4 separate regions of the Homo sapiens genome follow, and all the other regions are linked to region 2. Evidence: promoter capture Hi-C in 16 types of primary human blood cells and fetal thymus (Javierre and others, 2016). All regions are on one chromosome and are shown on one strand. The core of a region is centred on a gene start or on the middle of the fragment in contact, and the rest is flanking DNA. Distances in the headings are between cores, read along the strand shown.

Evidence for each region. The method cuts DNA at HindIII sites, captures the fragments that hold promoters and counts their contacts. A CHiCAGO score of 5 or more calls a contact.
Region 1: a contact is called between a fragment that was not itself captured here and the fragment with the promoter of MIR155HG in region 2, in 1 of 17 cell types (activated CD4 T cells). The highest score is 7.3, in activated CD4 T cells.
Region 3: a contact is called between a fragment that was not itself captured here and the fragment with the promoter of MIR155HG in region 2, in 1 of 17 cell types (activated CD4 T cells). The highest score is 5.4, in activated CD4 T cells.
Region 4: a fragment that was not itself captured here is called in contact with the fragment with the promoter of MIR155HG in region 2 in 1 of 17 cell types (activated CD4 T cells); the score reaches 7.5 in activated CD4 T cells.

Annotation. Positions count from the first base shown.
Region 1 is chr21:25,383,939-25,387,383 of GRCh38, reverse strand. It overlaps LINC00158 (long intergenic non-protein coding RNA 158), which reads left to right. Exons shown (of 5, transcript NR_024027.2): 5 at 1,046-1,564. Among named protein-coding and RNA genes, the nearest start is that of LINC00158, 46 kb to the left of the region's middle. The HindIII fragment of the contact is 6,485 bases long and covers 1-3,445 here.
Region 2 is chr21:25,560,634-25,563,926 of GRCh38, reverse strand. It overlaps MIR155HG (MIR155 host gene), which reads right to left and starts at 1,782. Exons shown (of 3, transcript NR_001458.3): 1 at 1,670-1,782. RefSeq lists silencers at 1,438-1,717, 1,728-1,817 and an enhancer at 2,198-2,247. The HindIII fragment of the contact is 13,141 bases long and covers 1-3,293 here.
Region 3 is chr21:25,366,341-25,369,606 of GRCh38, reverse strand. No RefSeq gene overlaps it. Among named protein-coding and RNA genes, the nearest start is that of LINC00158, 64 kb to the left of the region's middle. The HindIII fragment of the contact is 4,256 bases long and covers 1-3,266 here.
Region 4 is chr21:25,401,223-25,404,694 of GRCh38, reverse strand. All of the region lies in intron 4 of LINC00158 (long intergenic non-protein coding RNA 158), which reads left to right. Among named protein-coding and RNA genes, the nearest start is that of LINC00158, 29 kb to the left of the region's middle. The HindIII fragment of the contact is 5,453 bases long and covers 1-3,472 here.

The sequences.
Region 1 (3,445 bases), core at 821-3,320, 180 kb after region 2:
ATATACATGTAAAAACTGTGTAATTACATAGTTTAAAATTTCACTGTAATATAGCATGTTCCATAAATGATTTTTCAGGTTCTAGGACAGTCCTTATGATTATAATGGTTGCAAAATAGTTCACTGCATAGAGTTAACCTAATTTAATTTATTATTTTTATTATTAAACATGTAGTTTCTTTCAGCTTATTATCATTATTAACAATACTGCAGTAAATGGCCACATGGAACCTACATGTTTCTTTGTTTTGGATTTTTTTCATTGCAATACATGTCCTAAATTGGGATTACTGGGTCAAAGGTTATAAAATTTTAATGACTATGCAAACTGACTTAAAAATAACTACAAATAATTTAACAAAAACATGTGGGTATGTAATCCACTGAATTCTCGCTTGCTTTAGAAATTATATTTAAAGGTCACATAAATTGACTAATTAATATTGTAGAAAAAAATGATACTTTGTGTTAATTTGTGTGTCTGAATACTTGTGAGGCTAAACACTGTCCCGTAGGTTGCTTTAGCCAACAGAAGGAGTTATAATTCTTTCATTCGGTAATTGGACAAATATTTTTTGAGCGCCTACAATGTGCCAGGCAGTTTTTTTTGTTTGTTTGTTTCAGAGCACACAGCAGTGAAGTAAACAAACTCCCTTGCCCTCATGGATTTTATATTCTATGGTAAAAAAGACAATAAACACAATAAGTATTAAAATTATGTAGTATGTTAGAATAACTGCAGTAAAAAATAAAGTAAGATAAAAATAATAAGGAGTTTGTTAGCAGAAGTTGCATTTCTAAATATGGTGGTCATTGAAAAACAAACATTTGAACAAAGACTTGAAAGAGGTGGAGTAGGTCCCATATGGTATCAGAGGAAAGTGTTGCAGCCAGGGATGTTAAGTTGTAGAAGACCCTAAGGGGACCATGTGTGAGGTGTTGCAGGAGAATCAGGGAGGCCAGTTTGGCTAGAGTGAAGTGAAATCTTTGATGTGATGAAGTGATGATCTTTGATGAAATCTAGTAATGCTTATTTGTTTCATAGGAGAAAAACAAGGAGAGAAAAATCTAAACCCAGCAGAAGAGAAAGTTTAAGAAAGCGGTCGTCGCCAATACCAAAATTAGCTATGATATTCAGGAAGAAAAAAATGGAAACACGATAACCACAGTCAATAAAGACCAAGGCCACATTCCATTGACCAGAGCTCAGCCACGCGCCACACCTGGCTAAAGAGACTCTGGCTGAAGAATTCCCTGAATATTTTAATGTAGCTCTAGGTTATAACACAGAACAACCACAAGGTGGCAGAAGAACTCCATTCTTGTAAATCTCTTAGTTGCTTCTTTATTTCATCTTCCCTATTCCATCTAATGTTCCCTGAATTTTACTATTTTGTTGGTTTGAAAATATGTGTGACTTACGTCCTTTAAAGGATTTGGTTCGTAAGGTTTTGAATAGACTGGAATATAAAACATTTATAGAAAAGAAAAATACCTACAGTATGATGTTAGTGAACTATTAATAATCCAATTAAATAAAATATATTTGCTTTGGATTAATACATATTTTGTTTTGATGTTTGCTAAATAAAACTAAGCATTAGGAGGCCAAATAGCCACAATGAACATTTTCATATTATTTAATAAGCCAGTTTCAAGGCATACATGCTAAATTTGTTCTTAAGGAAAAGTTGAATTTTTGCTTTCATGAAATTACAAACTCTAAGGCAATTTTACACGTGTAAATCCAATGTGTTCTGAAGTTTAAAGTGTCAAAGGCTGTTGGATTTAAACAGATCTTGTATGACTCTCTGTTTCATCTCTTCAGAGGTTGATAGTAAGCAACTTTGGCAGCAACTCACAGCTTCTGCTGTAACATGAGGCTAATAATGACGACTTTATAAGGTTGTTGCAAAGAGTCAGGGATGCCACAAGCAACGTTCTTTATATATGCAGAATTTTAAAAATAAAGTAAATAAAAATATTCCTTCCTCTATTCCCCATTTTTCTAACATTATTTGCAACTGGTGTTTTAATGCAAGACCAAAGGCTAAAATATACATGTAGCTAGCAGAATCAAAACCTAGATCAGATGTTCAAAAGCATCATGCTGCTAAAAGATTTCAGAGTCTAAAACCTGTGCTCACTCTTCTGAAACATCTTTCCACTTCCTGTTTAAAAAAAAACGTGATATTCTTTGAAGCTCATTTTTTGGGCTTCATGTGTTGTAATTATACATTTGTTATATAGGGTATATGATGACTTACGCTCTAAGGTATTATTCAGTACATTGTAGAAAAAGGAGAATAAAGAATGTTGTTTGTCAGTAGGCAGCTCTGTCCTCTTTATCCTTGACTGTAATTTACTAAAGAGCTGACAAAATTACAGCACAGGCAGCAATTCACCATATTACCCTGCAGACAGCCAAGAGACTGACATTGAGATGATGCGTTTTAACTTGGGTCCATGTAAGGAACCTGATGGGGTTATATGAATTCTTTTCTGTACTATGAAAAAATGAAGTTGCTAATAAGAAGGAGGTACAAAAGTGTGTACTCTGCGCAAGGCTACTGATAAAGATGCTACAGGGATGCGTGGAAACCCAATATGTAACACTGAAATGGCTTTTGATTCATTTGTATTTGGTCTCAGACAAGAAAATAGATTAAGAAAAGGTCTGAAAAAATGGAGCACTAGGAAAAATGATAGGAAATTTTGTGTTGTTGATAGTTATCTAATATGAAATACACGTTTGTAATATTTTGACATATATGATTTAATACAACTATATTTTGTAATAAATATCTTTAATTCTAAGGATTGAAAATCTTAAAAGGATCTAAATTTTATAGTTATAGCTGTTTTGTTTCAATAGGCTGATGGACTTGGAAATTCCAGGTTTCTTAAACATATTCGATGAACTTGAAAAGCAGGGGGAGATACTTTCAGATGGCCTTGAATGGGAGCGGGGGGACCCTGGATTTCACTGGACACATCTTTCTTCCTTTCTTCTCTGTAGTTTGGGACCTCTTCTTCTCAACTAGTCAGCAATTATAAGAATGAAAATTACCAGCCGGGCGCGATGGCTCACGCCTGTAATCCCAGCCCTTTGGGAGGCCAAGGCGGGGGGATCACGAGGTCAGAAGATCGAGACCATCCTGGCTAACACGGTGAAACCCCGTCTCTACTAAAAAATACAAAGAATCAGCCGGGCATGGTGGCGGGTGCCTGTAGTCCCAGCTACTCAGGAGACTGAGGCAGGAGAATGGTGTGAATCCGGGAGGCTTATGTTGCAGTGACTGCACTCCAGCCTGGGCGACAGAGCGAGACTCTGTCTCAAAAAAAAAAAAAAAAAAAAAAAAGAATGAAAATTACCTTAGCAGCTATTCAGAGTAGGTCCAAAAGATAATCAAATAAAGAAGATTTCAGTATTCTCAAGGTGGAA
Region 2 (3,293 bases), core at 533-3,032:
ACCAGTGAATTACACTTTTTACACATGACTAGGTTAAAACAAAAGTAGACATTTGTGCAAACACCACTGTTCTCCCTTGAAGTGGTTGTAGGTCTCAGACAGTGCTAATTTTTCTCTTTCTTAATGTGTGTGGTTAGGAAGCTGGGTCCTGTGGCCAGAGTGAGCTGACCCACTATGTGAGGAAACTTACTTATCACAGCCTAATAAGGAGTAGTCCTTGCAGCAGAAGTAATTACTAAATGTGCTTTGGTCATTTGACAGAAATCAGGGAGGCAGCAAGGAGTCATGGAAATGAGCCCAAACTGAGAGTCAAAACCCTGTGGTCTGCCGACACCCCCATCCCACATCCGTACCTAAAAGCAGGCTGTGCACTAGGGACCTAGTGACCTTACTAGAAAAAACTCAAATTCTCTGAGCCACAAGTCCTCATGGGCAAAATGTAGATACCACCACCTAACCCTGCCAATTTCCTATCATTGTGACTATCAAATTAAACCACAGGCAGGAAGTTGCCTTGAAAACTTTTTATAGTGTATATTACTGTTCACATAGATAAGCAATTAACTTTACATATACCCGTTTTTAAAAGATCAGTCCTGTGATTAAAAGTCTGGCTGCCCTAATTCACTTCGATTATACATTAGGTTAAAGCCATATAAAAGAGGCACTACGTCTTCGGAGAGATGAATGGATATTACAAGCAGTAATTTTGGCTTTGGAATATACACATAATGTCCACTTGACCTCATCTATTTGACACAAAATGTAAACTAAATTATGAGCATCATTAGATACCTTGGCCTTTTCAAATCACACAGGGTCCTAGATCTGCTGTGTGATGCTGGAAAAGTAACTTCACTTCTGTGGGCCTCAGCTCCTTAATTTTTAACATACTTTGGATTCTTATATCTTTGTCAGCTGTCAACTTCAGTGTTTTCAGGTTAAATTCTATCCATAGTCATCCCAATATACCTGCTTTAGATGATACAAACTTCAAAAGATCCGGCTCTCCCTCGTAAAACGTGGAGGACAGACATCAAGGGGGTTTTGTGAGTAAAGAAAGGCAACCGCTCGGCAAAAACGCACCCTGGCACAACAGGAGCGAATAAATACAGACGCTGATTGAGCGTTTGCTCCATCTTCACTTCTGTTAAATGAAGACATTGATATCTAAAATGCTATGAGTCTAACTTTGTAAAATTAAAATAGATTTGTAGTTATTTTTCAAAATGAAATCGAAAAGATACAAGTTTTGAAGGCAGTCTCTTTTTCCACCCTGCCCCTCTAGTGTGTTTTACACACTTCTCTGGCCACTCCAACAGGGAAGCTGGTCCAGGGCCATTATACAGGTACGTCCCCAACCATCCAAGGAAACTTTGCAAAGAAGCTCAAGTATTAGGTTTCGAACACCCCTCCTTCCCCCTGCCTCTGCCCGCGGGAATCCATCCAGCGCAATCTCTGGTCCCGGGCGAGGCGACACCACTGAGTCCCCAGGGGGCACCCGCAGGCGCGCGCGGGACCAGGCCGGGCTCCACGGCCACGTGCGCGCTGCCCCCGCCTTGCCTCGCCAGTTAACCCGGCGGTGACCCTCGCACCGAAGTCCCCCGGCGTCCCTGCCACGTTCAAGAGAGGAAAGGCGGGCGGGAGCGCGAGACTGAAGTCGGCGTACCTGCAGTGCCAGGAGCGTCTCCTTGGTTCCCCGCGCTTGCTCTGCGGGCGGCTCGGGGCTCCGCTATCCGCTCCCTTCCCGAGGCTGCAGGCGGCGCTGGGCCCGGGCTCGGCCGCGCACAGGAAGCCCGCGCCTGCGAACGTGCGACCCTTTTATAACTCACTTGTGACTCATAACCGACCAGGCGCCTTTTCTGCAACCCCCCCCCCCTTCTCCCCCCTCCTGCCTGTTCTTGGAACCTACAGCTTGAAAAACTTTTTTCTTTTTAAAGGAAAAGTCGAAAAAGCCCAGCGCCCGGGTAGTTGGTGTTTTCCCCTTTCCCTTTCTCGTGGGTCATTGCGTGTGTGTATTTTTTTTCTCTCAACACACGCCGTGTACTTTCCTGCACCGCGCCGCAAGGCTTGGGCTCCAACCTTTGTTCTTAAAGAAAAGGAAACGCCTTCAAATGACGGCCCAGACGTCGCCCGAACTTTCAGTCGGCTGGAGGGGGAAGTGGCGACTTCTTGCAACTGGGTGGCAGGAGTGTCTCTACTCTCTCCTTGCAGGGAGCCCGAGAGGAGCAAGTGGGAGGTTTTTCCTCCTGGACCGAATCAGCTGGAGACCAGCAGGTCCCTAAGAGAGGAAGAAATGGTCTTCAGGCGATCCTGGATTTCATCCCTACCTCATCACCCTTCAAGAGCCCGCGTTTGGTTTGGAATACGTAACTGGGCTTTGAGAACGTTTGTACTGTGTCTGGTACCCGCATTTATACTCGGGATGTCAAGATATAGGACTTAAAACTTCAAAAATTTTGACCTCAACAACATTCTCCCCCTGCCCTCCACTCCCATCTCCAGGACATATTCCTGGAGCATATGGGACTTCGGTCGTTTTAATTTTTGGTTTTGTCGCTTCTCTCTTTTCTCCCGGACCCTGCCACAAGGGGAACATTTTCCTGGAGCAGCCATTTGATTTTGGGGGATGGAAAGGAACAAATAGATCTAAAGCCTGGCAAGTTTATCCTACAAGCCTAGTCGAGTAACTCATTCATGGGTCTCAGTTCAATAAACGTTTAGACTTGAAGAAGAATAAGGAAATATGGGGAAGAGAAGGAGGACAGGAATAGATCTAGCCTCATCAACATGTGACTGGGGCCTTTTTGTAAGAAAGACGGGGCCACTGCTGGATTGCATTGCAAGTATCCAGTACTTGGACCTCCCTGTCAAGGGCACAAGACATTTTAGAATAGTTTGTATTAAACTGATGCCAGTTACATGTCAGAATACATGTCAGAGCTGGAAATCCCATAGTACTTAATTTACAGATGGCTCAGGTTGGTTAAGGAACTTGGGAGCATTTTAAAACCCTCTATTCTTAAGATACATGCTTTTTCTCTTATAATTCAAACAAGAATAATCATGATGATAACAACTAACACTTATAAAGCATTTACCATGTGCCAGATCCTGTCCTAACACTCCTTATATGCATTAACTCTTTCAGTCCTCACTATGATCATATGAGGGAGGAGCATTATAATCTCTATTTCCAGATGAGGAAACTGAGCACAGAGAGATTAAACATGTTACCTTAGATCCTAGTAAGTAGTCAAGCTGAGATTCAAACTCAGTTCCAACCCTGGAGG
Region 3 (3,266 bases), core at 373-2,872, 190 kb after region 2:
TGTTCTTCATGGGAGCAACAGGGTAAGAAAACCATGTCCTGGAAAATCACAGTGGTGAGAGTTGGCTCTAGATACACCTGTGAAGGATGGAGAGGCAGTTGTATATGCATCTACTACCATTTTCCTTTCTAAATTTTGGTGGAAGTAGAATAAACACAATCTTTGGAGTCAAAGCTGAGTTTAAATCCTGGTCCTAACTTTTATAAGGAAACTGAGACTTAAACTTTGTTTTCTCTAATTTGTACATGGAGTTTCCTGGCTGCCCCTGCCTTGGTTTTTCAACTGGATAATCCCAGGTAAAATGGGTTTCTTATGCTTCAAGAGTCAGTTTGGATGTTATCTTAGAAGCCTACTCTCAATCCTCCAGCTAGACAGGTGATCATTTTCTCTATACTTCATATCACTTATTATATTCTACTTCAATTGCCTATGTACTTTGGAAAGGAGACTTTATTTTTTATAAAGGGTTACAGACTGCAGGGTAGCCATCCTGCCAGGCTGGGAAGTGTAGCCTCCAGCAGAGACTGTTAACAGGCACTGCATAGGAGGGGGGGTTGGGGCAGGAGCTTTACGCTAAACAGGTTGGCTACACATATATATTCAACAGTTATAGGAGAAGCTATGAATATTTACAAAGAAGATCCTGATGCATGCATATTGAATAAACATGCATGTTACATGTGTCCCATTTCACGTTGGGAGTGGAGACTTCACCTTTAAATGCATTACAATTGGGTCAAAAAAGTGAAGCGAAAAAAACGAGGCACTCTAGCATGCAGCCTCTGTAAACTGGCCAGAACCATCCTATAGTTAGTGGCCTCTTATCAGAAGAAAGTTACTGAAATCAGCTTCTGGTTCAATCAAAGCTATAGTTACGGCTTGTGGAACAGGGAGTTAGTCTGCGTCTGGTGGTGGATGAGCTATAATTGTTTTTAATATTGCTTATCTTGAGGCCGATGCTCGTTTAGCCACTATGGAAAAAGAAATCTGGTGGCAGTTAGAACAGAATTTATTCTTTAAGTGTAGGGGTGTGTGACTTAACCCTTGCCTGGTATGGTGTTAGGTCTTTATAATTTGGTATCTTATTGCCACAAAGAGTCTGTTCCATCAGTCTTATGATCTGTTTCAGTGTTAATGCTGGTCAGTTTTCATGTCTAAACCACAAAAAGGAGGGTATCATGAAACATGTTTGAACTCCCATTCCATCATGGCTAGGAATTCAGTTTTTAATATTTCCCTGGGGTCCCATTGGCTAAGAGAGGGGTTCATTCCATCCTTGGGGGCTAGGAATTTTATTGTTAGTTCTCACTTTTTTTTTTTTTTTTTTTGAGACAGAGTCTCACTCTGTCACCCAGGCTGGAGTGCAGTGGAGCAATCCTGGCTCACAGCAACCTCCAGTCTCCCAGGTTCAAGTGATCCTCCTGCCTCACCCTCCCAAGTAGCTGGGACCACAAGCATGCACTACCACGACAGGCTAATTTTTTTGTATTTTTAGTAGAGACAGGTCTCACCATGTTGGCCAGGCTGGTCTTGAACTCCTGGCCTCAAGTGATCCACCCGCCTCAGCCTCCCAAAGTGCTGGGATTACAGGCATGAGCCACCATGCCCAGCCAGTTCTCACTTTTAAGACAGATAACTTCATGGTGCAGTATATGTCACATAAGGTGTGAATAAATATTTGGAAAATTTGATCCATAAAATATGGATAGTAGTAACCATTTCAAAAAGTGACCATAAGAACTAGGAGATGATCACTTCCGTTAAGTTCCTGCCACATAGTAGGCACTCAATAAGTTCTCGATTGAATCTTTCTCCCACTCCTAGCAATGGCAGCAGCCCAGTGGCCTGTCCTTTCCCCCCAACTCCACCAACAGTTTTGTGAGCCAACCCTGCATGGTCTTTTCTCTGCTTTACATCATTGTCATAAATCTCAACTGACACATCAGTGTCTCTGCCACCCCAAGGGGGGCCCTCAGGACAAATATTTTTTCATTAGAGGGGTCCTGCCTTGGCTGGAAGTGTTGAGGTCCTTTGTAGCACTGCCAAAACAAAACACAAACCAAACAGAATTGCCTTCATAATACTGAGACACAGGTGAAAGACTGAGCGGGAGCCTCTATGCACCTTTCAAAAGCTCACCTAAACTACCTGTTGCCAAAGTTCTAAAAATGGTTGTGCATATGCTGTCTCTGCTATTCCTTCTACCCTCAATCATGCCTCTTGGGACAACTGAGTGTTGGGGTCTAGTCGACTCATGGTCTGAACCTTTCTTATTCAAGGAAGAGGGGCATGTGGCGAAGCAGGCTTGTGGTTATAGAAACCCTTGTCCCTTTATAGAGGGCAACCAGATATCATCAGCATAACAAAGGGGAGTAGTATATTTTGATATACACAGTATTTTTATAACAATGATGGATATGATATATTGCTGTCAATTTTTACAATTGGCAGAGATAGAGGTGCTTTTTTCTTAAATCAGAAGGTACATATCTAGAACATCTCTCTCCGGAAAACTAGAAGACGTATGATAAAGAGTAGAGACAGCAGAGTCAGAAGGTGGACAGAGCCACAAGCAGAGCACTTAGGGAGAGCTGGCGTTTGGCTGGCTGGATAGAGTCTACTCTAGTTCTTGCTTATTAGTCAGTCACTGTTTAAGCAGCATAAATGTGTGCAATGTTTGCAAATATGTGTATAATATTTTGCTAAAATAATTTGGTTAAGAGAGAATTTTCCTACGTGTTTTAAAACACAACTAACTTTCAGAGGATAAGAATACAGTAAAATATGCATGACACATGAGTTGCATGGAATAGATTTGTGTTCAAGATTTGGAAATTGACTGAGATTTTTGTAGTATTTCATAGCTGTGTAGTCTAGACAGATAGGGCTTATCGGTGGACATGAAAACAAAATTTGAGGACTCACAGTTCAGTCTAGACTCGGGGTCCAGGGTTAACTATGTAATGGAAGATAGCCTTTGAGAGGGGATGTAGATAACAGAACCCCATGAGAGGCTAGTACAGTGTATAAAACCAAGGTATGAGTTTTTTCCAAAAGAAGAGGTCTCTTACCAAGACCGCTGTGGTCCTCATGAGTCTGTTCTTGAGGTAGAAATTCTGGAAAGAAAAAGCCTGCTGTGACTCTGGGCTGGCATTCTTATTTTCAGAGTGCACAAGACCTCTGTTGATGATACCTCCTGAAGAAGCAGTGAGTTGTACAGTATCACAAAAGAAACTTGGATCTTCCCTGGGGTTGGCAGGAAGCAC
Region 4 (3,472 bases), core at 393-2,892, 160 kb after region 2:
TGAGCCGAGATTGCACCATTGTACTCCAGCCTGGACAACAAGAGTGAGACTCTGTCTTAAAAAAAATATAAAAAAAGAAATGCTACTGATTTTTGTATGTTGAACTTTGTATCTTGAAACATTACTGAACTTGTTTATCAGTTCTAACAGTTTTCTTGTGGTCTTTAGGGTTTTTGGTTTTTCTCTATATAAGATCATATAATCTGCAAACATGGATAATTTGACTTATTTCTTTCCAATTTTGATGGCCTTTATTTTTTTCTCTTGTCTGATTGCTCTAGCTAGGACTTCCAGTACTATGTTGAATAACAGCGGTGAAAGTGGCCATCCTTGTTGTCTTCCAGACCTTACAGGAAAGGTGTTCAGTTTTTCCCCATTCAGTATGGTACTAGCTGTGGGTCTGTCTTATATAACTTTTATTATGTTGAGATATGTTCCTTCTATACCAAGTTTTTTTTTTTTATCATGAATGAAGGGATGTCAAATTTTATCAAATGGTTTTTCAGCATCGATTTAAATGATCATATACTTTTTGTCCTTTGTTCTGCTGATATGATGAATCATATCAGTTGATTTGTATCTGTTGAACCATCCTTGAATCCCTGGGATAAATTTCACCTGGTCGTGATGAATGATCTTTTAAATGTATTGTTGAAAATGTTTGCTAGTATTTTGTTGAGAATTTTTGCAACAATATTCATCAGAGATATTGGCTTGCAGTTTTCTTTTTTTGATGTGCCTTTCTCTGGTTTTGGTATCAGGATAATACTGGCCTTATAGAAGGAGTTTGGAAGTATTCCCTCCTCCTTGAATTTTTTGGAATAGATTGAGTAAGACTGGTATTAGTTTTTCAAATATTTGGTAGAATTCAGCAGTGAATCCATCAGGTATTGGGCTTTTCTTTGATCGGAGACTTTATTACAGCTTTGATCTCATTACTTGTTATTTGTCTATTCAGATTTTGGATTTTTTCATGGTTCAATCTTTGCAGGTTGTATGTATCTAGGAATATATCCATTTTTTTCTAGGTTTTCAAATTTTTTGGCATACATTTTCTCATAGTAGTCTCTAATGATTCTTTGAATTTCTGTGGTTTTAGTGTAATGTCTTCTTTTTCATCTCAATTTTATTTATTTGACTTTTCTCCCTTTTTTCCCCATAGTCTGGCTAAAGGTTTGTATTAGTCCATTTTCACACTGCTGATAAAGACATATGTGAGACTGGGAAGAAAAAGAGGTCTAATGGACTCACAGTCCCACATGACTGGGGAGGCCTCACAATCATGGCAGAAGGCAAGGAGGAGCAAGTCAAGTCTTGCATGGATGGCAGCAAGGCAAAGAGAGAATGAGAATGAAGCAAAAGTGGAAACTCCTTATAAAACTGTCAGATCTTGTGAGACTTATTCACTATCATGAGAACAGTATGGGGGAAACCGGCTCCATGATTCAATTATCTCCCACCAGGACCCTCTCACAACATGTGGGAATTATGGGAATACAATGTAAGATGAGATTTGGGTGGGGAAACAAAGACAAACCATAACATTCCACCCTTGCCCCCTGCCAAATCTCATGTCCTCACATTTCAAAATCAATCATGCCTTCCCAACAGTCCCCCAAAGTCTTGACTCATTTCATCATTAACTCAAAAGTCCACAGTCCAAAGTCTCATCTGAGACAAGGCAAGTCCCTTCTGCCTATGAGCCTGTAAAAATAAGTTAGTTACTTCCTAGGTACAATGGGGTACAGGCAATGGGTAAATATACCTGTCCCAAATTGGGGGAAGTTGGCCAAACAAAGGGGCTACAGGCCTCATGCAAGTCTGAAATCTAGCAGGACAGTCAAATCTAAAAACTGCAAAATGATCTCCTTTAACTCCATGTCTCACATCTGCATCACGCTGATGCAAGAGGTGGGTTACTGTGGTCTTGGGCAGCTCTGCTCCTGTGGCTTTGTGGGTACAGTCTCGCTCCTGGCTGCTTTCATGGGCTGGTGTTGAGTGTCTGTGGCTTTTCCAGGCAAACAGTGCAAACTATCAATGGATCTCCCATTCTGGGGTCTGGAGGACAACTCGTCTCACAACTCTGCTAGGCAGTGCCCCAGTAGGGATACTGTGTGGGAACTCCAACCCCACATTTTCCTTCTGCACTGCCTTAGCAGAGGTTCTTCATGAGAGTCCTGCTTCTTCAGAAAACTTCTGCCTGACATCCAGGCATTTCCATATATTGTCTGAAATCTGGGCAGAGGTTCCCAAACCCCAATTCTTGACTTCTGTGCACTGGCAGGCTCGACACCATGTGGAAGCTGCCAAGTCTTGCAGCTTGCACCCTCTGAAGCCACAGCCTGAGCTCTACATTGTCCCCGTTAAGCCACAGGTGGAGCAGCTGGGAACCAGGGCAGCAAGTCCCTAGGCTACACACAGCAGGGGGACCCTGGGCTCGGTCCACATAACCACTTTTTCTTCCTAGGCCTCCGGTCTGTGATGGGAGGGGCTGCTGTGAAGACCTCTGACATGCCCTGGAGACATTTTCCACATTATCTTGGGGACTAACATTCAGCTTCTTGTTACTTATGCAAATTTCTGCAGGTGGCTTGTATTTCTCCTCAGAAAATGGTATTTTCTTTTCTATTGCATTGTCAAGCTGCAAATTTTCTCAGCTTCTATGCTCTGCTTCCCTTATAAAACTGAATACCTTTAACAGCACCCAAGTCACCTTTTGAATGCTTTGCTACTTAGGAATTTCTTCTGCCAGATACCCTAACTCATTTCTCTCAAGTTCAAAGTTCCACAAATCTCTAGGGCAGTGGCGAAATGCTGTTAGTCTCTTTGCTAAAACATAACAAGAGTTACCTTTGCTCAAGTTCCCCAAAAGTTTCTCATCTCCATCTGAGACCACCTCAACCCAGACCCTACCATCCATATCGCTATCAGCATTTTGGGCAAAGACATTCAGCAAGTCTCTAGAAAGTTCCAAACATTCCCACATTTTCCTGTCTTCTTCTGAGTCCTCCAAACTGTTCCAACCCTTGCCTATTTCCCAACCCCAAACTTACTGCCACAATTTTGGGTATCTTTTCAGCAGTGCCCCACTCTACTGGTACCAATATCTGTATTAGTCAGGGTTCTCTAGAGGAACAGAACTAACAGGATATATATATATCTATGGAGTTTATTAAGAAACTCACACAATCACAAGGTCCCACAATGGACCATCTGCAAGCTGAGGAGCAAGGAAGCCAGTCTGAGTCCCAAATCTGAAGAACTTGGAGTCTGATGTTTGAGGGTAAGAAGCATCCAGCACAGGAGAAAGATGTAGGCTGGGAGGCTAAGCCAGTTTAGTGTTTTCATGTTCTTCTGCCTGCTTTTTTTTCTGGCCATGCTGGTAGCTGATTAGATAGTGCCCACCCAGATTAAGGGGGGGGGTCTGCCTTACCCAGTCCACTGACTCAAATGTTAATCTCCTTTAGAAACA